Regions from separate parts of the Homo sapiens genome. Here regions 1, 2, 3, 4, 5 and 7 are each linked to region 6. Evidence: promoter capture Hi-C in 16 types of primary human blood cells and fetal thymus (Javierre and others, 2016). All regions are on one chromosome and are shown on one strand. Each heading gives the region's core, a stretch centred on a gene start or on the middle of the fragment in contact. The rest is flanking DNA. Distances are from core to core; before and after follow the strand shown. Region 1 has its middle 3.4 kb from the start of RPP14. Region 2 has its middle 5.8 kb from the start of SLMAP. Region 3 overlaps ARF4-AS1 (ARF4 antisense RNA 1). Region 4 overlaps SLMAP (sarcolemma associated protein). Region 5 holds the start of PDHB (pyruvate dehydrogenase E1 subunit beta). Region 6 holds the start of ACTR8 (actin related protein 8). Region 7 overlaps KCTD6 (potassium channel tetramerization domain containing 6).

Evidence for each region. Contacts are between HindIII fragments. The CHiCAGO score rates a contact against its expected background, and 5 or more counts as called.
Region 1: a contact is called between a fragment that was not itself captured here and the fragment with the promoter of ACTR8 in region 6, in 3 of 17 cell types (total CD8 T cells, activated CD4 T cells and naive CD8 T cells). The highest score is 7.6, in total CD8 T cells.
Region 2: a fragment that was not itself captured here is called in contact with the fragment with the promoter of ACTR8 in region 6 in 1 of 17 cell types (non-activated CD4 T cells); the score reaches 6.0 in non-activated CD4 T cells.
Region 3: a fragment that was not itself captured here is called in contact with the fragment with the promoter of ACTR8 in region 6 in 2 of 17 cell types (non-activated CD4 T cells and total CD8 T cells); the score reaches 9.5 in non-activated CD4 T cells.
Region 4: a contact is called between a fragment that was not itself captured here and the fragment with the promoter of ACTR8 in region 6, in 1 of 17 cell types (non-activated CD4 T cells). The highest score is 5.5, in non-activated CD4 T cells.
Region 5: a contact is called between the fragment with the promoter of PDHB here and the fragment with the promoter of ACTR8 in region 6, in 4 of 17 cell types (naive CD4 T cells, naive CD8 T cells, total CD4 T cells and 1 more). The highest score is 11.0, in naive CD4 T cells.
Region 7: a fragment that was not itself captured here is called in contact with the fragment with the promoter of ACTR8 in region 6 in 2 of 17 cell types (non-activated CD4 T cells and activated CD4 T cells); the score reaches 13.1 in non-activated CD4 T cells.

The regions. Positions count from the first base shown.
Region 1 is chr3:58,301,460-58,304,305 of GRCh38, forward strand. No RefSeq gene overlaps it. Among named protein-coding and RNA genes, the nearest start is that of RPP14, 3.4 kb to the right of the region's middle. The HindIII fragment of the contact is 2,909 bases long and covers 1-2,755 here.
Region 2 is chr3:57,748,972-57,752,021 of GRCh38, forward strand. No RefSeq gene overlaps it. Among named protein-coding and RNA genes, the nearest start is that of SLMAP, 5.8 kb to the right of the region's middle. RefSeq lists an enhancer at 2,613-3,050. The HindIII fragment of the contact is 7,472 bases long and covers 1-3,050 here.
Region 3 is chr3:57,598,812-57,601,665 of GRCh38, forward strand. It overlaps ARF4-AS1 (ARF4 antisense RNA 1), which reads left to right. Exons shown (of 2, transcript NR_132370.1): 2 at 1,932-2,105. It also overlaps a transcript of PDE12 not described here. Among named protein-coding and RNA genes, the nearest start is that of ARF4-AS1, 2.4 kb to the left of the region's middle. The HindIII fragment of the contact is 2,797 bases long and covers 93-2,854 here.
Region 4 is chr3:57,766,888-57,769,673 of GRCh38, forward strand. All of the region lies in intron 2 of SLMAP (sarcolemma associated protein), which reads left to right. Among named protein-coding and RNA genes, the nearest start is that of SLMAP, 12 kb to the left of the region's middle. The HindIII fragment of the contact is 215 bases long and covers 1,274-1,488 here.
Region 5 is chr3:58,432,312-58,435,178 of GRCh38, forward strand. PDHB (pyruvate dehydrogenase E1 subunit beta) reads right to left here and starts at 1,521. Exons shown (of 10, transcript NM_000925.4): 1 at 1,457-1,521; 2 at 1,320-1,373. The coding sequence starts at 1,498. LOC107986092 (a long non-coding RNA gene) reads left to right here and starts at 1,284. Exons shown (of 4, transcript XR_007095933.1): 1 at 1,284-1,931. RefSeq lists enhancers at 1,277-1,496, 2,539-2,867 and a silencer at 1,557-1,796. The HindIII fragment of the contact is 4,898 bases long and covers 1-2,867 here.
Region 6 is chr3:53,880,743-53,883,618 of GRCh38, forward strand. ACTR8 (actin related protein 8) reads right to left here and starts at 1,410. Exons shown (of 13, transcript NM_022899.5): 1 at 1,237-1,410. The coding sequence starts at 1,359. RefSeq lists silencers at 1,037-1,146, 1,537-1,626 and an enhancer at 1,297-1,376. The HindIII fragment of the contact is 9,111 bases long and covers 753-2,876 here.
Region 7 is chr3:58,492,416-58,495,257 of GRCh38, forward strand. All of the region lies in intron 1 of KCTD6 (potassium channel tetramerization domain containing 6), which reads left to right. Among named protein-coding and RNA genes, the nearest start is that of KCTD6, 1.7 kb to the left of the region's middle. The HindIII fragment of the contact is 1,736 bases long and covers 691-2,426 here.

The DNA.
Region 1 (2,846 bases), core at 51-2,550, 4.4 Mb after region 6:
GGAAGAAGGCTTTCTTTGAGAGCTGCTGCTGTGGACATGGGAGATCAGTCTCAAATCCATCTCCCTGACTGACTAAAATTAGGAGTTTATACAGCAGAAATATAACAAATGCAGGAAAACAGGAATCAGGGAAGGATAAGGAAGGGGAGTTGGTCAACAGAAAGCAGGTCGTGGGAGACAGGCAGTCATGAAGGGTGAAGGGTCTGGACTGTCATTGTCCAAATGCAGTGATCTGGTGAGTTTCAGCTCCTTGATACTACCTGGGAAGCCTCATGGTTGGTTTACTGAGAAAGGAACTCAGATAAGACAAATGTAACTTCTCAAATTTTAAGATGAGAAGGTCAATCTCTACATATACTCAAAAGAAACCGTAAGCATCAGTTCTGTGGGATGATTGGACCGGTTTCAAATCCACATCTTTGCTTGGCTTCTTCTCCTGCCCTATCTTGCTTCCCTCCTCCCTTACAGATTTCACTTGGGGGCCATCTCCCAGTAAATCACTTCCGTGAGGGTCTCTCTCTCAGGCTTGGCTTCTAGGGATTCTAAAGCACTGCCTGCTTTTCAGAGTTTCTTGTTTGGAGATGACGCTTGAGTTGATGACACTTGAGTTGCCTCAAAGGAGCAGCTCCCAGACTGGTCTTCCACATGGGAGGGATGGAATGCAGCTTTTTAGGCTCTGGAGCCTCTCACCACCTTAGATAAATGACTTAGCTTCATTTTCTTCATCTGTGAAAAGTGGTAATTATAGTGACATTGCATGGTTGATGGAATAATGTGAGCAAGTTAGCTGGTACTTGGCAAATCTCCCTAAACTATGTGATCTTATTCTCGAAACAGAAACAATGGCTACAGTTCCATAGGTTTTAACTTCTGATCATTTTCACTTCCTTTGTCCTATCTCCACAATCTGCTGACATAGGGGGTGTTTTCCATTAAATCAATGGAGAACAGGGGGACTGGAATCTCACTTGGACCCTTCTCTCTTGCCTTTTCTTCCCCAAGTTGAGAAAGCTCCTCAGCTTTAGAAAAATCCATTTGGCACCAATAAGTAAGGCAGGGAGGGGAGCCACACAGCAGAGGGGAAGTGTGGACTTAACTCATTCTTGGCTGCCGTACCTTTCAGGGACATAAAATAGAGACCGACCCCAACAACTTTGCTCTGAAACACAGAGGGTACCTGAAATGGTCCTCTTAAGAACTAACTGGCTCCACCCAATGCAGTACAGGGTAACTTTCATAAAGACTGAGGCAGCTAACCTGGGCAACATAGCAAGATCCCCTCTCTAAAAATAAAAATCAAAAAAATTAGCCAGGTGTGGTGACACATGCCTGTAGTCCCAGCTCCTCTGGAGGCTGAGGCAGGAGGATCACTTGAGCCCAGGAGTTTGAGGCTGCAGTGACCTATGTTTGCACCACTGTACTCCAGCCTGGACCACAGAGTAAGACCCTGTCTCCAAAAAAAAAAAGAAAAAAAGACTGAGGCAGCCTTGTGTGTTTTGATTTGGAGCAATTTTAGATACATCGTCAAGAGGTAAAAGCCCCCATATCATATTTTTCAGGGGACACTTAAGAAACTCATACTAGTTGTTGCTCCTGGAGAGGGGAGAGGCTGACAGGGGAAGAGGTGGAAGGGAGACTCACTTTTTAATATCTATCCCTTTATGTCATTTGAAATGTATGCTGTAAGCCTACAGTACCTATTCAGAAGATAAAATTTAGGCATGGTGCAGTGCCTCACACCTGTAATCCCAGCATTTTGGGAGGCCAACGCAGAAGGATCGCTTGAGCCTAGGAGTTCAAGACCAGCCTGAGCAACATGGTGAGACCCTGTTTCTACAAAAAAATTAAAAATTAGCTGGCCATGGTGGCATGCACCTGTAGTCCCAGCTACTTGGGAGGCTGGGGTGGGAGGATCGGTTGAGCCTGGGAGGTTGAGGCTACAGTGACCCATGATCACATTATTGTACTACAGTCTGGGTGACAGTGAGACACTGTCCAAAAACGATTTTTTAATATAAAATTTAGTTGAAAAACAAAAGTTTTTTTTTGTTTTTTGTTTTGTTTTGTTTGTTGGCAGAGTCTCGCTCTGTCATCTCGGCTAGAGTGCAGTGGCGTGATCTCAGCTTACTGCAACCTCTGCCTCCTGGGTTCAAGCAATTCTCCTGCCTCAGCCTCCCGAGTAGCTGGGATTACAGGTGCGCACCATCACACCCAGCTAATTTTTGTATTTTTAGTAGAGACAGGGTTTCGCCATGTTGGCCAGGCTGGTCTTGAACTCCTGACCTCAGGTGTTCTGCCCACCTCGGCCTCCTAAAGTGCTGGATTACAGGCCTGAGCCACAACACCCAGCCAAAAAACAAGTTTTTTGTCTTTATCATTCAAAGGCATCTCTTTTATCCTCCGCTCTGAATTAATAAGACAGCATGAGAGAATTCAGGCAACTGGGAAGACACTTCATTTTCAGGGTTTGTTGCAGCAGGGTGAAAATTATCTATTGTTCCTTGAAGTTCAAAATACAGGAATTGCTCTGGTTTTCCTGGGCCACCTGGCAGGATACATTTGCCAGGCAGCTGGCTTACAGGAACCCTCTCCCATTACTGAGGGTTTCCTGGGGTGCCAGACACTTTATACCATCAACTCTTTTTCCCTCAACTCTGTGAGGTAGATGCTAATAATCTCTCCATGTGACAGATGAGGGAGGTAGGTAAGTGGCAGAGGATGCATTTGAAGCAAGTTCTGGCAGCTTCTGAAATCAAGCTTTTTTGAGAAAGATAATACTTGGGTCTGTGGGGTCTGTGTTTGCTTTCTCCACCTCTTCCCACATCTGGAACAAGCCCTGTCTCCTC
Region 2 (3,050 bases), core at 416-2,915, 3.9 Mb after region 6:
GTGGTGGTGCATGCCTGTAGTCCCAGCTACTCGGGAGGCTGAGATGGGAGGATCCCTTGAGCCCAGGAGGTCAAGGCTCCAGTGAGCCATGATCTCGCCACTGCACTCCAGCCTGGGTGACAGAGCAAGACCCTGTCTCAAAAAAACTCATCAAAACTCCACATATTTTGGTTACTTAGGAAAATGTTTCTAGTAGTAAAGGCATGTTGATCTATTTCTGCAATTTACTGTCAAAAAGTTCAGAAAACACACAGGTAAGGCAAATATGACAAAATGGTAACGACTTAGAATCAAGGAGCTCTGTGTGTGTTCACTGTAATTTCAATATTTCTGTACATTTGAAATTTTTTATAACAAAAAGTTTAGGAAAATATGAAAAATGAACAATTTTAGTGGATACAGGTTCTACCTTGATTCAATATTATTCTCATTATCGTCTTCAAGACTAACTTCAGAGTCTAAGCTAGAGTGAGAAGTTACAAAATCAAGTTTTCTTCTGCCACCATCTTTGCCACTGATCCTGAGTTATCATATAACCAGAAAATGGGGAGACGGACCTGTCTGGTTGCACTTAAAGCATCTCATTTCTCTAGAGAAGCGTTTTCAGTGTCAATAGCCCACCAATTTCTTCTACAGCATTTCACGTGTCATGCTCGTTAACATGCTAGATTTGCACAGAGGAGACTGGGTTCCTGAGCCATATGTTCAAAGCAGGAACAGCTATATAATTTTTTCGTTTTTATTCAGTTTCGCTTTTGTAGCCTGGGCTGGAGTGCAAGGGCACGATCTTGGCTCACTGCCCCAGCCTCCTGAGTAGCTGGAATTACAGGTGTGATCGACCACACCATACTAATTTTGCATTTTTAGTAGGGACGGGATTTAATCGTGTTGGCCAGGCTGGTCTTGAACTCCTGACTCCAGGTGATCCAAAAGCCTTGGCCTTCCAAAGGGTTGGGATTACAGGCATGAGCCACCACGCTTGGCAACAGCTATATAATTTGAGGGGTCCAGTGCAAATGAAAATGAGAAATCTGTTCAAAAGTTACCGAGAATTTCAAGACAGCAGAGTACAACTAGATATAGTCCTTCCAAGCGGGGCCCTACGTAAAGGTCATACGCTATGAAACCGGCTCTGTACAAAACCCAGTGAAGAATCTACAGATGATTGGCCAGGTGCAGTGGCTCATGCCTGTAATTCCACCATTCGGGAGGCAGAAGCGGGCAGATCACTTGAGGTCAGGAGTATGAGACCAGCCTAGCCAACATGGTGAAACCCCTTCTCTACTTGAAAAAAAAAAAAAAAAAAATTAGCTGGGTGTGGTGGCGAGTGCGTATAATTCCAGCTACTCAGTCAGAAGGCTGAAGTAGGAGAATTGCTTGAACCCCGGAAGCAAAGGTTGCAGTGAGCCGAGACTGACACATTGCACTACTGCCTCGGCAACAGAGCGAGACTCTGTCTCAAAAAAAAAAAAACAAAAAACACAGATGAGACCTCCTCCTCCCAGCCTTGTATGCTTGACACGCTTTGAGGGAGTGGGGGTGCAGGAGGAGCAGGCACTCCAGAGTCACTTCCTTGTATAGGTCTCTTCAATCCATTTCAACCTATCTTCTGAGAAATCCTTAAGACCAAAGATCCCTGAGATATTTATTAGTTTTCTAAAACATAGGCATTTAGTGAGATGCTGATGTATGACATTATACAGTAGCAACAAGGCATTTTTCTGAAACAAAAGCCCAAATAAAGTTTATTAAAAGGAAACACAAATAACTACATTCAAAAACAATTATTCAAAATATCATAGTTTTCTTTCTCTCTCTCTCTCTTTTTTTTTGAGACAGAGTCCTGCTGTTTCACCCAGGCTGGAGTGTGTAATGGCGAGATCTCGGCTCACTGCAGCTACCACCTCCCAGGTTCAAGTGATTCTCCTGCCTCAGCCTCCCAAGTAGCTGGAATTACAGACGTGTGCTACCACACCCGGCTAATTTTTGTATTTTTAGTAGAGACAGGACTTCACCATGTTGGCCAGTCTGGTTTTGAACTCCTGACCTCAGGTGATCCTCCTGCCTTGGCCTTCCAAAGTGCTGGGATTACAGGTGTGAGCCACCATGCCAGGCCAAAATATCATAGTTTTCTTAGAATAAAGTATGTACTTAAAATATATTTTTATGTGCCACACTTGCAGGGAATTATTATATATACATATGTTACAAATCATTTGATGAGCAAAGCCATCGTATATAGAGTCTCTGATATTTTACTTGGTAACTAAGTTATTTGGAAACAAATCCAGATATACCAATAAAAATTCAGAAAGAAAATGCCTCATGGGGTTTTCTGACCCAGCCCTTTTACTCTTAAGCATTTGCTACATTCCAAGTAACATTCTCAAATTAGTTATAAAAAACAAGCAGATACTTCCAGTAATCAAAAGGGGACTTATACAAGAGTGACAAAAAATAGCATAATTTCTTCCCTTCCTCGTCCCCGTGCCCCAATACAGGCCTTTTGCTATTGATATAAATTATTTATCACTTTTAAGAATAAGGCCCTTAGTGTTGACCTTCCCACTTCTAATAAATGTGGTATTTTTAAAAGGGCATGCTTCATGTGGCTTAGAATAGCATCTGGAAGAATACAGCTAACAAATTGTTAACAGTAGCATTAGACTAAGTATTTGTGATGGGGCTAGAGAGGACTTTTACTTTCCTCATTTTTGCTTACCTGAATATATGCAATGAGCATGTGTTTCTTTTATCAATCAAAAAAATCAGTCGGGGCCGGCATGGTGGCTCATGCCTATAATCCCAGCACTATGGGAGGCCGGACAGGAGGATCACTTGAGCCCATGGGTTTGAGACCAGCCTAAGCAACACAGGGGATCCGAGGTATACAGAAAAGAAAAAATTAATAAACAAAAATAAATTAGCTGGGTATGGCGGTGGCACATGCCTGTGGCACATGCCTACTAAGGAGGCTGAGGTGGAAAGATTGGTTGGGCTGGGGAGGTTGAGGCTACAGTGAGCCGTGATTGTGCCATTGCACTCCAGCC
Region 3 (2,854 bases), core at 241-2,740, 3.7 Mb after region 6:
AAAACTTCTTTACTCAGAAGTACCCTCCTTTGCATTGGAGATACATGTAAAGAGTTGCTTAGCAGTTGAATAACTCAAAATTGCATTTTGGAAGCTTGCTAAGTGACAAGACCTTCTTGTATCCTTTTGTGAACCCCCAAAATATGAGACAGGCCTCAGTTAATTTAGAAAGTTAATTTTGCCAAAGTTGAGGACACGCGTCCATGACATAGCCTCAGGAGGTCTTGTAGACATGTGCCCAAGGTGATCAGAGCACGGTTTGGTTTTATACATTCTAGGGAGAAATGAGACATCAATCAATATATGTAAGATGAACATTGGTTCATTCTGGAAAGACTGGACAACTCAAAGCAAAGGCAGGAAGACTCTGAGTGGGGAGGGAGCTTCCAGGGCATAGATAGATAAGAGACAAATGGTTGCATTCCTTTGAGTTTCTGATTAGCCTCTCCAAAGGAGGCAGTCAGATATGCGTTTATCTCAGTGAGCAGAGGGGTGACTTTTTAAAGAATGGGAGGCAGGTTGGCCCTAAGCAGTTCCCAGCTTGACTTTTCTCTTTAGCTTAGTGAGGTGGAGGCCCCAAGATTTATTTTCCTTTCACACTTTAGGCCTTATGTCTGTTTTTAGTTTTATATAGTAGAATTCCTTAAAACAATCTTCAACTAATTCTTAGGGTCTTCTTAAATTCAAAAGACAAACCGTATGAGCCCTCCTCCCTGTAACTTATTCCAAATCTTAATCCATGTTTTCTGTTTAGTTATGCAAAATAAATCGAAAGAATTCTGTTCTCCATCTCTAGCCTCCAAAACCTGAACCAAAACAAAAGTTGTCAAAACAGATTTTTCAGTAAGAATACACTACACATCAAGTGGCTAATGTAAATTACAAAACAGGATGTTAATGGCAGACTGTAATATCTCTATTGTACAGATAAAAATAATCAGGGTCAGAGAGATTAAATATTCTGCCCAAGGTCACACAGCTAAAAGCAGTGGAACAGCTATAAGAACCCATTTCTTCTGGTATTAACTGGTATTTACACTCTTTTTTTTTTTTTTTTTTTAATAAATAAGTGGATTCTGGCTATGTTGCCCAGGCCTGTCTGGAACTCCTGGGCCCAAGCAATCCTTCCACCTCAGCCTCCAAAGTGTTGGGATTACAGGTGTGAGCCAGTGCACCCAGCCATTAACACTCTTAACCACTACACTATACTACCTTCTTACATTTATTTATTTATTTATTTGAGACAGGGTCTCACTTTGTCACCCAAGCTGAAGTACAGTGGCATCATCTCGGCTTACTCAACCTCCTGGGATCAAGTGATCCTCCCACCTCAGCCCCCAAAGTAGCTGGGACTACAGGTACACCACCACATTGGCTAAGTAGTGTTATTTTTTGTAGAGACAGGGTTTTGCTATGTTGCCAAGGCTGGTCTCAAACTCCTGAGCTCAACCAATCTGTCTGCCTTGGCCTCCCAAAGTACTGGGATTATGGGCCTGAGCCACTGTTCCCGGCCAAATTCTTTTCTTTTCTCTTTTCTTTTTCTTTCTTTCCTTTCTTTTCTTTCTTTCTCTTTCTTTTCTTTCCTTCATCCTTCCCTCCCCTTCCTTTCCTTTCCCTTTTCCCCTCCCTTCCCCCTTCTGTTCCCTTTTCCCTTCCCTTTTCCCTCCTCTCCCTTCCCCTCCCCTCCCTTTTTCCTCCTGCCTCAGCCTCCCAAGTAGCTGGGACCACAGACATATTCCACCATGCCCAGCTATTTTATGTATTTTTGGTAGAGTTGGCGTTTTGTAGAGACCAGCATGTTGCCCAAGCTGGTATCCAGCTGCTGAGCTCAGGCGATCTACTCGCCTTGGCCTCCCAAAGTGTTGGTAGTAGAGGTGTGAGCCACCGTGCCCAGACCCCAAATTTATTTTTATTTTATTTTATTTTTCTAGGTCAGGCATGGTGGCTCACACCTGTAATCCCAGCATGTTGGGAGGCCAAGATGGGAGACTCACTTGAGCCCAGAAGTTCCAGACCAGCCTTGGCAATATAGTGAGATGCCATTTCTATTTTAAAAAATATTTTAAAAATAAAATATTTTTCTATTCACCTTTCATCAATACAAACCCAGAAGAGAATCTTTCTTATTTTTAAAAATGAGGAAATTGAGCCCTACAAGAAAAATTGCTATAGTTTATTGATCACTTGCTAAGCCATGTACTTCATTTAATCATCGCTTTTGAACACAGTGTTGTATAAAGTTGCCCAGGCTCAAAAGCATGTACTCATAACATACTACACTAGGTAGTATGTTTTCCTCATCTCTGGTTATTTTATTTTATTTTTTTTTGCTCTGTCACCTAGGCTGGAGTGCAGTGGGGCGATCTTGGCTCACTGTAGCCTCTGCCTCCTGGGTTCCAGCGATTCTCCTGTATCAGCCTCCGGGGTAGCTGGAATTACAGGCACATGCCACTGCGCCCGGCTAATTTTTGTATTTTTAGCAGAGAGGGGGTTTCACCATGTTGGCCAGGCTGGTCTCGAACTCCTGACCTAGGTGGTCCACCCACCTCGGCCTCCCAAAATGCTGGGATTACAGGTGTGAGCCACCGCGCCCAGCCTCTGACTATTTTTCTTAGTGAGATCTTTTTAGTCACAAATATGTATATGGAATTTACATTCCAGTCCCTTGGGTTTAATAATGTACAGACAGCAGACCCCCTGTATCTTCAGGTTTCAAACCCACAGATTCAGCCAATAGCAGATGTGGAACCTGCAGATGCAGAATGGCAACTGTAAGGGCCTTGAGCATCTGCAGATTTTGGTATCACGGGGATCCTGGAACCAATCTCCCCAAATACCCAGGTACAACTATAAT
Region 4 (2,786 bases), core at 131-2,630, 3.9 Mb after region 6:
TATAATTTCTTTATTTCTTTTTTTTAAATTTATTTTTATTTTTATTTTTGAGACAGGGTCCCTCTCTGTCACCCAGGCTAGAGTGTAGTGGTGTGATCTTGGCTTACTGCAGCCTCCACCTCATGGGTTCAAGCAGTTCTCCTGCCTCAGCCTCTCAAGTAGCTGGGATGACAGGCACCCCCCAGCACACCTGGCTAATTTTTGTATTTTTAGTAGAGATGGGATTTCACCATGTTGCCCAGGCTGATCTCGAACTCCTGGCCTCAAGCAATCCACCTGCCTCAGCCTCCCAAAGTGCTGGGATTACAGGTGTGAGCCACTGCACCCGGCCTGTATATAATTTCATTATGGGACATAAACAACAAAATAACTATGATGCAAATGTACTACTGTCCCATCAGATGTGAACTCTTGAGAGCAAGAGAATAGGCACTACATTCATGTTTGAATGAGGGAAATGTGAACAATGGAGCGGTTTGTATTTCTGCAAACCTGTGCAGTGTTAAAGGGCAGAAAGTCATTCAAGTTAGTTCTCAATTTGAGATCATGGACTCAATTATCAATATGTAGTCTTTGTATAAGTCATTATTTATTGAGAGCTTGCAGTTTGCAAAACATTTTGCTAAGTGTTTTTGGATCGTAGATCCAAATCTTGTGATTGGTGATATGAAATTATATATATGAACTATTACAATTTCACACAAAATAATTTTAAAAGGTTTTAGAATAATCAGAGTGCTTTCTTGTTTCATTTGGTCTATATAACACTCTTAGAAGGTAAGTAAAACAGCTGCAGTCTGGCTCGCTTTTGTCCAAAAAGAGTTTGATGTTTAGAGGTTATTTGTACAAGATCATCTAGTGGTAACTATGGGAGTTTTTTTCCCCCCAAAATGAAAGCCAACTATTAGACATTTATTCTGAACTGTCTTCTTAGGGACTGAGCAATTATTATGAAAATCTGTCTTTTGCTCTCTTGAAAGGTAATCTAAGCTATTGCTTTTTGATGTATAACCGAAACTTGTCATATTACGGACTTTCAAAGACTGAAATAACTCAAGTTAATTATTTCTCTGAGTCAGCTAACATTTTTAAAAACTTACCTCTACTACTCCTAGAAATACAATATTTTTTCTTGGGCTTGCATTCAGGCAAACTGATTTGGCTTTGGGTATATATGAAAATGAATGAAACAGCCTTGGAAAAACTTGTTTGGCCATGTACATTTTTCATGCTTTATAAGAGAGTAGCTGACAAATGTAAAGAAAAGAAGGAAAGCTTATATAGGCACTTGAAAATATGGACGTGTTTGGTGGTTAGTACTGTATCTTTTGTCAAGTATACAATTTGGGTTGGATTTTAAATTTAAGCACATAGAAACTGTGTGTTAAGATTTTCTCAATATTTTCAGGCTTACAGTTTTATTTATATATAAGTACTGACTTATTCTAGCTGAGCCAAGCAGAAAGGATTTTCCAATATAGACTTTCAAGCTTTTCTTATTTTTTACTTATACAAATAACAGGAATACATTCTCATAAAAAGTCAAGCAGGCCAGGTGTGGTGGCTCACACCTGTAATCCTAGCACTTTGGGAGGCTGAGGCAGGAAGATTGCTTGAGGCCAGGATTTCAAGTTCAGCCTGGGCAACTGTTTATATGAAATGTGTAGAATAGGTAAATTCATAGAAACAAAGATTGGTGGTTTCTAGGGGCTGAGGGTAATTAGGAATGTGATGGTTAATTTTATGTCAGTGTGGCTAGGCTGTGGTATCAGTTTTTCACTTGACCAACTTTTGGTCAAACACCAACCTGATATTCCTGTGAAAGTATTTCTTAGATGTGACTAACATTTATACCATTATACTTTGAGTAAAGCATATTACCCTCCATAATGTGGGTGGGCCTCTCTAATCAGTCGAAGGCCTTAAAAAAAAAGACTGAGGTCCCCCTGAAGTTAGGAATTTTGCCCTCACAAAGCTGTTGGACTCAAGACTACACAACAGCTCTTCCCTGAATCCCTAGTCTAATGATATGCCCCGCCAATTTCATACTTGCCAGCACCCCCCACCCCAGTTGCGTGAGCCAATTCCATTAGATAAATCTCTCTATATAAATGTACATGCAATCGGTTCTGTTTTTCTAGAGCCTTGACTAACATAGGATATGACTGCCAAATTGGTACGAGTTTCTTTTTGGGATGATGAAAATGTAAAATTGATTGTGGCGATGGTTGCACAACTCTGAATTGTATACTTAAATTGGCAATTGTATGGTGTTTGAATTATATCTCCAAAAAGGATTTTCATTTTATTTTATTTTTTTTTTGAGATGGAGTCTTGCTCTGTTGCCCAGGCTGGAGTGCAGTGGCGCGATCTTGGCTCACTGCAAGCTCTGCCTCCTGGGTTCACGCCATTCTCCTGCCTCAGCCTCCTGAGTAGCTGGGACTACAGGGCGCCTGTCACCACGCCCAGCCAGTTTCTTGTATTTTTAGTAGAGATGGGGTTTCACCGTGTTAGCCAGGATGGTCTCGATCTCCTGACCTCGTGATCCGCCCGCCTTGGCCTCCCAAAGTGCTGGGATTACAGGCATGAGCCACCGCGCCCGGCTGGATTTTTTTTTTTAAGACACAAGGTCTCACTATGTTGCCCGGCTGGTCTCAAATTCCTGGGCTCAAGCAACCCTCCCACCTCAGGCTCCCAAAGTGTTAGGATTACAGGGTGAGCTACCGCACCTAGGCCCAAAAAGGAATGTTAGATGAAGTAATAGCTTAGTGAAAGCAGCTTGGGAT
Region 5 (2,867 bases), core at 271-2,770, 4.6 Mb after region 6:
ATTCCACTTCTATGTATATGCCCCAAATAATTGAAAGCAGGGATTCAAGCATATACTTGCACATCAATGTTCACAGCAGCATTACTCACAATAGACAAAACAAGGCCAGGCACGGTGGCTCACACCTGTAATTCCAGCACTCTGGGAGGCCAAGGCAGGTGGATCACTTGAGGTCAGGAGTTCGAGACCACCCTGGCCAACATGGTGAAACCCATTCTCTACTAAAAATACAAAAATTGGCCGGGTGTGGTGGCGGGTGCCTGTAATCCCAGCTACTCGGGAGGCTGAGGCAGAATTGCTTGAACCCAGGAGGCAGAGATTGCAGTGAGCTGAGATAGTGCCACTGCACTCTAGCCTGGGCAGCAAGAGCAAAACTCCGTCTCAAAAAAAAAAAAGAAAATGTCGGGCTGAGCGAGGTGGCTCATGCCTGTAATCCTAGCACTTTGGGAGGCCAAGGCAGGCAGATCACTTGAGGCCAGGAGTTCAAGACCAGCCTGGGCAATATGGTGAGACCCTGTCTGTACTAAAAATACAAAAATTAGCCCGGTGTGGTGGCACCGGCATCTAATCACAGCTACTCAGGAGTGTGAGGCGCGAGAATCCCTTGAGCCCAGGAGGTGGAGGTTGCAGTGAGCTGAGATCGCGCCACTGCACTCCAACCTGGGTGACAGAGGGAGACTATCTCAAAAAAATATACATATATATATTATTCAGCCTTAGGAAAGAATCAAACTCTGACGCATGCTACAACATGGATGAACCTTGAGGACATTACGCTGAGATAAGCCAGACACAAAAGGACAAATGATGCCACTTATAAGAAGTTCTAGAATAGGCAACCTCATAAAGACAGAAAAGTACAACAGGGGTTACCAGGGGTTTGGGGAAGGGAAATGAGGAGTTACCGAGTAATGGACAGTTTCTGCTTGGGATGATTAAAAAGTTCTGGAAATGGATGGTGGTTAATGGTTGTACAACATGGTGAATGTACTTAATGCCACTGAATTATACACTTCTAAAAAGTACATTTTAAGTTAGGTCTATTTTGCTGCAATTTAAAGAAAAAAACATGGAGTGAGGGAGGAAACGCCTAGTCTTAGTTTTCCCCCATTGCCCAGCCAGCTGTGAGGTGGTGACTCGCCGGTGTGCTAATTGCCAGGCGGCGACAGAGGCAGCAGGAGCTCCACGGAGGATGCTGGCTCCGCAAACCCAAGGCCCACGGCGCCGGAAGGCCACAGCGCAGGCGCGACTCCGGCCTCCTTCCCGAGAGAAGGGGGGACCCTCCCCGCCCTCGTCCGACGAGCACCCGCGCCTGTTACCTGCAGCGCAGCCGGCGCGGTCCAGTGAAAGCGCCTCTTCAGCAGCCCGGAGACCTGGCAGGGAGAGAGGAAGATGACGGCGGGACGCAGGGTGGGCAGGGGTCGCGTGGGAATACAGGCCGCGCGCTGCTGCCTACCTCCCGAAGGGGTCTCCGCACCAAGCCAGACACCGCCGCCATCTTGGTCGTGTCCTCTATCCGCTGCCAAACGACAACAGAGGGGCCGGCAGACGTGAGCAGGCCCCGCCTCCACCGGCGCGGGCCAATGGCAAGGCGCGCCGGCTGCGTGACCCGCCCACCCGCCCACCGGGTGAGGGGCCGCGGGGCCGGGCTGAGGTGGCGTGTGGGTGGCCGTGCCCCTCTGCCTGGAGCCGCCTCAAATCAACTTTATTGACAGTAGGCGGTGACCGACAGGCGGGGTGCACGCTGGGCACACGTGCCTGGTCGGTGTTACTTGAAGCGTGGGGACTAGAAGTCAGACCCTGAGGAGCATGATCTCTGGAAGCTGGAGAGACCTTAAGAGTTAGGCCAACCTGTTGTGGGTGCTGGAATCCTTTGGGCACCAAGAAGTGCTTGCACACGCTCTACTGATGGGGAACTTAACACTTCATGAGTGAGTCTAGTCTTCCCTGGACAGTGCTGTCTGTTGATTCCTTATAATGCACATCATAGCTTTCATTGATTGCATTAAGCACCTACTGTGAGCCAAGCATTGAGATATGTGCTGTATAGCTCATTCTCACAGTACCCCACTTGGGTAATTAGTGTTATTATTATCTCCATTTTGAAGACGGTTAAACTGAAGCAGAAATTGATTAAATGAGCCGATATTTTAATTTAGGACTGTCTTGACTCTAAAGCATGGTCTTTTTCCCACTGCTTCCTAAAGCAGAAGTGGATTCCTGCTTGGGGGAAGGTTACAACAACTTTAGAGAAGGGCGGCCCTATGGATGTAGCAGGACAAGCCGCAGACGAAACTCCTCAGACACCGAGTTAAAGAAGGAAGGGGTTTATTCGGCCAGGGGCATGGGCAAGACTCTTGTCTCAAGAGCCGAGCTCCCTGAATGGGCAATTCCTGTCCCTTTTAAGGGCTCACAGCTCTAAGGAGGTGTGCGTGAGAGGGTCATGATTGATTGAGCAAGCAGGGGGTATGTGACTAGGGGCTGCAAGCACCGGTAATTAGACTGGAACAGGATAGGGATTTTCACAGTGCTTTTCTATACAATGTCTGTAATCTATAGTTAACATAACCGATTAGGTCGGGGTCGATCTTTACCAGGCCCAGGGTGTGGCACCAGGCTGTCTGTTTGTGGATTTCATTTCTGCCTTTTAGTTTTTACTTTTTCTTTCTTTGGAGGCAGAAATTGGGCATAAGACAATATGAGGGGTGGTCTCCTCCCTTATGGGGAGGTGCCAAACACTTGGCCATAGGGACAACCTCTGGAAGCTCATTAGTCTTAATTTGGCCCTTGGGGGTCAGATGGGACAATTGAGCACCCAGTCTCCACCCATCCCCAAGACATTCCAAACATTCCCTTCTATGGATCAC
Region 6 (2,876 bases), core at 160-2,659:
TCCTCTGTTGGCACAAGTGTCTTCCACACTGTTCTTCTTCCCTGAGATTCCCTCCTCCCTCTGGTTAGCTCCTAATCACCTTCAGGACTCTAAACAGATGTCACCTCACCTCCTTTGAAGAAACCCTCCCTGACTGTCGGGGATGGAGGAGGTACTTGCTTGAGTGCCCAATACTGCCCTCTGCACAAGCCCATTCCATGCCATGCTCTGATACCTGTTGTCCTATCTCCAAGTGTGACCTCTCTCCTCCTAATCACCCCCCACAGAGTGGGAGAATCCTAGAGGGAAGGATCTGGCAAGGCCCTTACAGACCATCCAGTCAGCCTTCTCAACTAGACAGATGGAGAAACCAGGCCTGTGCAACAGTAATGGCCACTCTGGGCTTACGGTGTGCCAGGCACTGTCATACTAGTGATAACTAACTAGTAGCTGCCCTACTAGTTAGGTATTATCCTTAACCCATCTACCGGTAAGGAAGCTGGATCAGAGATGTCCTACATGAATTTCTGAGCAGTTTATGCCTCATTTCTTCTGTGAATTGTACACTGCCTGTGCCCGTTTTCCTACGTGAATGCTGTTTTAGTTACTGATCAGTAAGGTTTTGTGTATGTGTATACATCTAAGGTCCTCTGCCAGGCACGCTACTGCAAATAATTTTTTCTGGTTAGTTTAGTTTGGTCTAATAGTGTTGTTTTTGATACACAAGCTCTTAATATATATTTAGACAAATGTCCACCATTTCCTTGCTTTTAAGCTTGAAATGACTTCCATTATCTGAGATTTCCTTAACAAAGGAAAAAGCCTGGACCCCAAACTATCCCTTAACAAGCACAGGCTGACGCTCCCAGTGAGCCAGCCTGGTCCTAAACTCTATCTGCCACCATTTAACCCTCACGGCAACTTGCGAGGCGGCTGGTTATCACCGTGGTCGTTTTATGGTCGGGGAAGCTGAGGCCAGAGCCCGGGCAGGAGCGCACACAACCAGACGGTGGGGCGTGCGGGAGATCGGAGCGGTGTCCCTGCGGGGGCTCCGCCTGGCTCCTGGCGCTCCGCACCTCCCAGCCCTCGGCGTCCCGGCGCGCCACCACCCGGAAAAGAACGACCGCTTCCGCACTCCCCCCACCAGGGGCTGGGGCCTGCAAGGGGGACTCGAAGCCTCCCGCCGCCTCCCGCCCCTTGCCTGGCAGCGGAGGACCCAAGCAAGGGCAAAGAGTTCCAACCCAGCCAGAGCCGCACCTCTTGCAGCGACTCCGGCACCAGCGCGGGCACGATGGGCCGCTTCACGCCGCGCTGCTCCTTCTCCTTCTCGCCGCCCTTCTCCTTTCCGTTCTCCGTATCACCCTTCTCAGCCTGGGTCATTATGGCCGGAGACACCCACCAACCTCTCGCCTCAGCGCTGCAGCCACGACTGCCGGGATGGAAGGGCCACCGCGCAGGCGCACGGCCGGCTGCCCACAGTCAAGATGGCCGCCGCGGAGTCGCCCCAGAGGGCTCCGAAAAGGCGGGGGTGGGGCTGCCCGGCGCAGGGGCTGGGGGCGGGGTGTGCATGCGGATTGATTGGGTGGGTGTTGCTGTGATTAGTCCTGACTGTGTAGATGCCAGCAACATAGTACACATAGCTTTTCGAGCGCCTAGTGGGGGTCGGCTGATAACCCGCATCTTATTTCGTCCTCACAGGCATCTCTTCTCCTGGCTTCCCAGATACCATATGTACTCTTAGTTTTTCTCATATGTCTTCATGTTCAGTCCAGCCTCTGATGTTGGGGTTAGGTCTTTTCCAGGCACACTCCTTGGGTGACTATCCAGTTTCCTGGCTTTAGCAATGAATACGATTCCCAAATATATATATCCAGGATGAACCGCTCAGAGAGATCCGTACTGATAACCAGTGCCTACTTGGTCTCTCCATCTGGATTGTCTACAAGGCACTGCAAACTTAAATATGTCCAAAATTTAACTCTTGATTCCCTCCCCTCTCACTTTCACCATCTCAGTAAATGTCATTTTGATTCTTCACTTGTTGACAGCTTCTACATCCAATCCATCAGTAAATCCTGCAGTCTCTAAAATAGATCTTGAATTCATCCACTTCTCCATTCCCATGCCACTACCTAGCCCAAGCCACTATCATCTCACCTGGATGACTACAACAGCCTCTTAACTCGAACTCCTTGTCCTGTCCCCCTATGATCTGTTCTTATATAGTTGCCCACGTTGTTTTAAAATATTACGTAGTTAATACTACTATGTACCCAGCACTCCACTAAGACTTACCTCAAAAATTAGATGTCACTCATGCTTTAAACTCTAATGGTTTCCCTTTGCTCAAAGAACAGAATCTAAACTAACCACCACCTAAAGACCATATCTAGTTATTGCTACATTTCTAAGTTCACCTCACAACACTCTCCCCATTCCTTGGCATTTCCAGCTACACCTGTTTTATCTTTCTCAGACATGCCAAGCCCTTCCCGTCATCGGGCTGTTGCACTTGCTGTTCATTTTGCCTTGGATGCTCTTCCCTCAGCTGTCTCATTCTCACGTCTGAACTCAAATGTCACCTCAGGCCTTCCGCAGTTATTCTCTCATCATCCTATTCCCTTTGAAGCATGAAGCATTAGTCTGTAATTATCATGCCTGCTCACTGTCTCCCACACTAGAATGTAAGCTCCGTGAGACTTTGCCAGTTATCTTCAGCACATGGTAGGTGCCCAATAAGCATGTGATGACTAAATACTAAATAAAGAACTCTTGGAGGTAAAAATTTAATCCCCGTTTTACAGGTGAGTGAAGTGGGATAAAATGGCATAATTCACTCAAGATCATAAGCTATTGAGTAGCAAAGACAAGAGTTAAGCATAAAGTACTCAAGAACC
Region 7 (2,842 bases), core at 309-2,808, 4.6 Mb after region 6:
TTCTGCGGGCCCGGGTTCGGAGCCCCGCGGCGCGCCCCTCGTCCGGGCCCGGAGCATCGCCCGCCCTACCCCTGGCCGGGTCGGGTTGCGGGGGCTTCGCTGGCGGGGCAGCAGCGAAGGGCGGCCCGGACGGAGATATTTGGGGTGTGCTCGAAAATGATTGTTTTTGGGAGATGGCGCTTATTAGCCACCAATTGCCCTAGTTTAAAGCTTGAGGCAGGACTCAAAACCCTGCCTTTGGGATTTTCTGCCCTGAAGAGACTCTCAGATCGCAGCTGAGTTCTTTATGCCTAGATTTGTGTGTGTGTGGTGGCGTTTTTAATGCTTGATGTCAGAGGTGATAAATGGCCATGGTAATGGGGAGCCCTGGCAGCACCTGCTGGGCTGACAGTGGTGGAGGCTGTGTCTGGGGGTGGGACGGGGAAATGAAACGTGACAGAGATCCTGTTTGGATATTCTGCCGAAGTTACCATGTTTCTGTTCAAGTATACCAGTTCTAGAACAAGTTGATGGATCCAATTTTAGGACTTTGTGATAGAAGAGGTTTGGGTGGCAAAGTGACCTGGGATGACCCGGCTCGGCTAAGAATATTTGGGGTAGCCTAAGTATCTCTTCTATATCCCCCTGGCATGTTCTTTTTTTCGCTGTCACAAATGCCCTATTACTTGAATCATCCTGGGATAGGAGAGAAGCTTGGGGACAGCATGTAGCACAGTCCTGAGCCCAAGATTGAGATGTTTTCAAATGAACGAATATGTAGCTAGGAAAAGGAAAATGTGTTTGTCAGCAGGGTTGGTAGGTTGAGAGTATTTTCTCTTTGGCCGAAACCATCAGTCCATACTGATACTTGATTTTGTGCTATGCCTTAGATATGAACGATGGAGTGGTCAGGATAGCCATGGATGCCATTCCAAAGTTTTGTGATTTGAATTTTCATAAATCATATTTTAACCAAAGCATTACTACTTAAAGGAATCTTAGGGTGAACCCTATGAATCCTTCAGTGCGCTTGGATTTTGATATTTGGGGTCCATTTAAAATGGAGTACCTGTATGTATTTGGATTCAGCTTTAACTTGGAGATAATCCCGAGTCATGCTTTAAAGAAGTTCCTTCTGAGATCAGGAGCTCAGGTGTTTGGTGAACTCTGGGAAAACTAGACACTCCCCTTTACCTGTATATAGTTCTCCCTTCTGGAGCTCTGGGAAAAGGAGGACCTGGGGAGATTTGAAGCAAATTAAGAGGCTGCCTCCTCCATATTTGCCGTCTCCAGGCCAATGCTCTAAATTACTTGTGTTCACACTCAAGTTTCTCATGTTAACCTAGAAATTTTGTTTATGCTGCTGCCACTAATGTTTTCACATTTGTCTAATACTTGCTAGTTTACAGATGGTTTTATATTCATGATCTCCCTTATTTTCTCCATTTCCCCAAAGAAGAAGCTGGGCATAAAGAGTGATTTTCTCAGGGTCTCATAATCAGTAACGGAGCAGAATTCAACTACAGGACCTCCCTGGGAACCTGTTCTCTTTCCTTGTCCTGATGTGTTACTCTTATAGGCCAATTTTTGCCTTTGTGTTGTGCCTAAATGGTGTAATTACCCCGTTTTGGGAAGGTGGTATTATCCCGTTTTATCTTGCGGAAACTGAGGGTTAAGAGGAATGTTATGATTTTGTGACTATTTGTGACAGCTTTTTAATATTAGGTCACTTTTAAACCTATAGCTTCTCTCTTCTAGACCACATGGTTGAGAAAGGAGAAAGAGAAAATGATTACTTGTAGAGAAAAATCCATTTCTGCAGTGGTATGGTTAAGGATAATCTAACCATAATCACATTATCCTTGTATGCCTGGCTACTTATGCTGGCCTGTATGTGAATGTTAACCCCAAAGACTCCTTTAGATGTCGCTGAACTAGTTACTATAAAAAGTATTTCGCTTTCAAACTCCCACATTTCAAGAAGAGCAAAACTCAATACAAGGCAATTTTGAAGGTAAGTATAGAAAGAGGGAGTTTATTGAGTCTTTTCTGACTACCAGACACGAAGGTTTCAGTAAAAAAGCATTTTTAAAGGGCTGCCTGGAAACTCTGGGAAGTCAGTAGTTGGAGTTTTTTATTATTCGTTGGAGGTTTTTATTGCAACATATAGGTAGTTATATAGGATTAGGACTTTTGCCCCGGAGAATTCTTAATCTATAGCAGGAATGATAAACCCAGAATATTTTTGTTAAGTTAGTTCATCATAACCATTAGGCCTGTAATTGCAATTCTGCAGTGATAGGGAGAATGGCATTTAAGGGTTCTTAGGTTATTTTTTTAAGTTATTAACTTACTGAATTATGTATGCATTTCTTCAGATATGCTACTTTAGAAAATTAATACTTCCTTTTAAGGTTTCTATAAATTCTTCAGTATGTGTTTTCTTAAGCTTAATTACCTGCTAACATGACACTGTCAGAATTTATACATTAGTCACAATAACCTTTGAAGCTTAAACATGGTTGAATTTTCAGCACTGCTTTATATTCTTTGGGGAGTGGGCAGTGTTGTTTTCACAAGAATTTTATTTGCATCAAAGGTTACATCTTTTCAGGTGAACTGATTTTTCAGGGTCAGAGGCTTCTTTGAATTTTATAGCTGTTTGTGCTCGGTTGCATTTGCTGTCTTTCAAAACCATCTTTAGTTTTAGTAAGGAAAGTCACTATAAAGGAAAAATTTTTTATTGTTACCATTCCTGGTAGATTTTCTGAAATATTAGATATTTCTTTGCTTTCATCAAGTAAAATAGGCCTATTTGATACCCATTTCAAGATCTTCCTTCTGCTGCCTGTCTTGTGGTCAT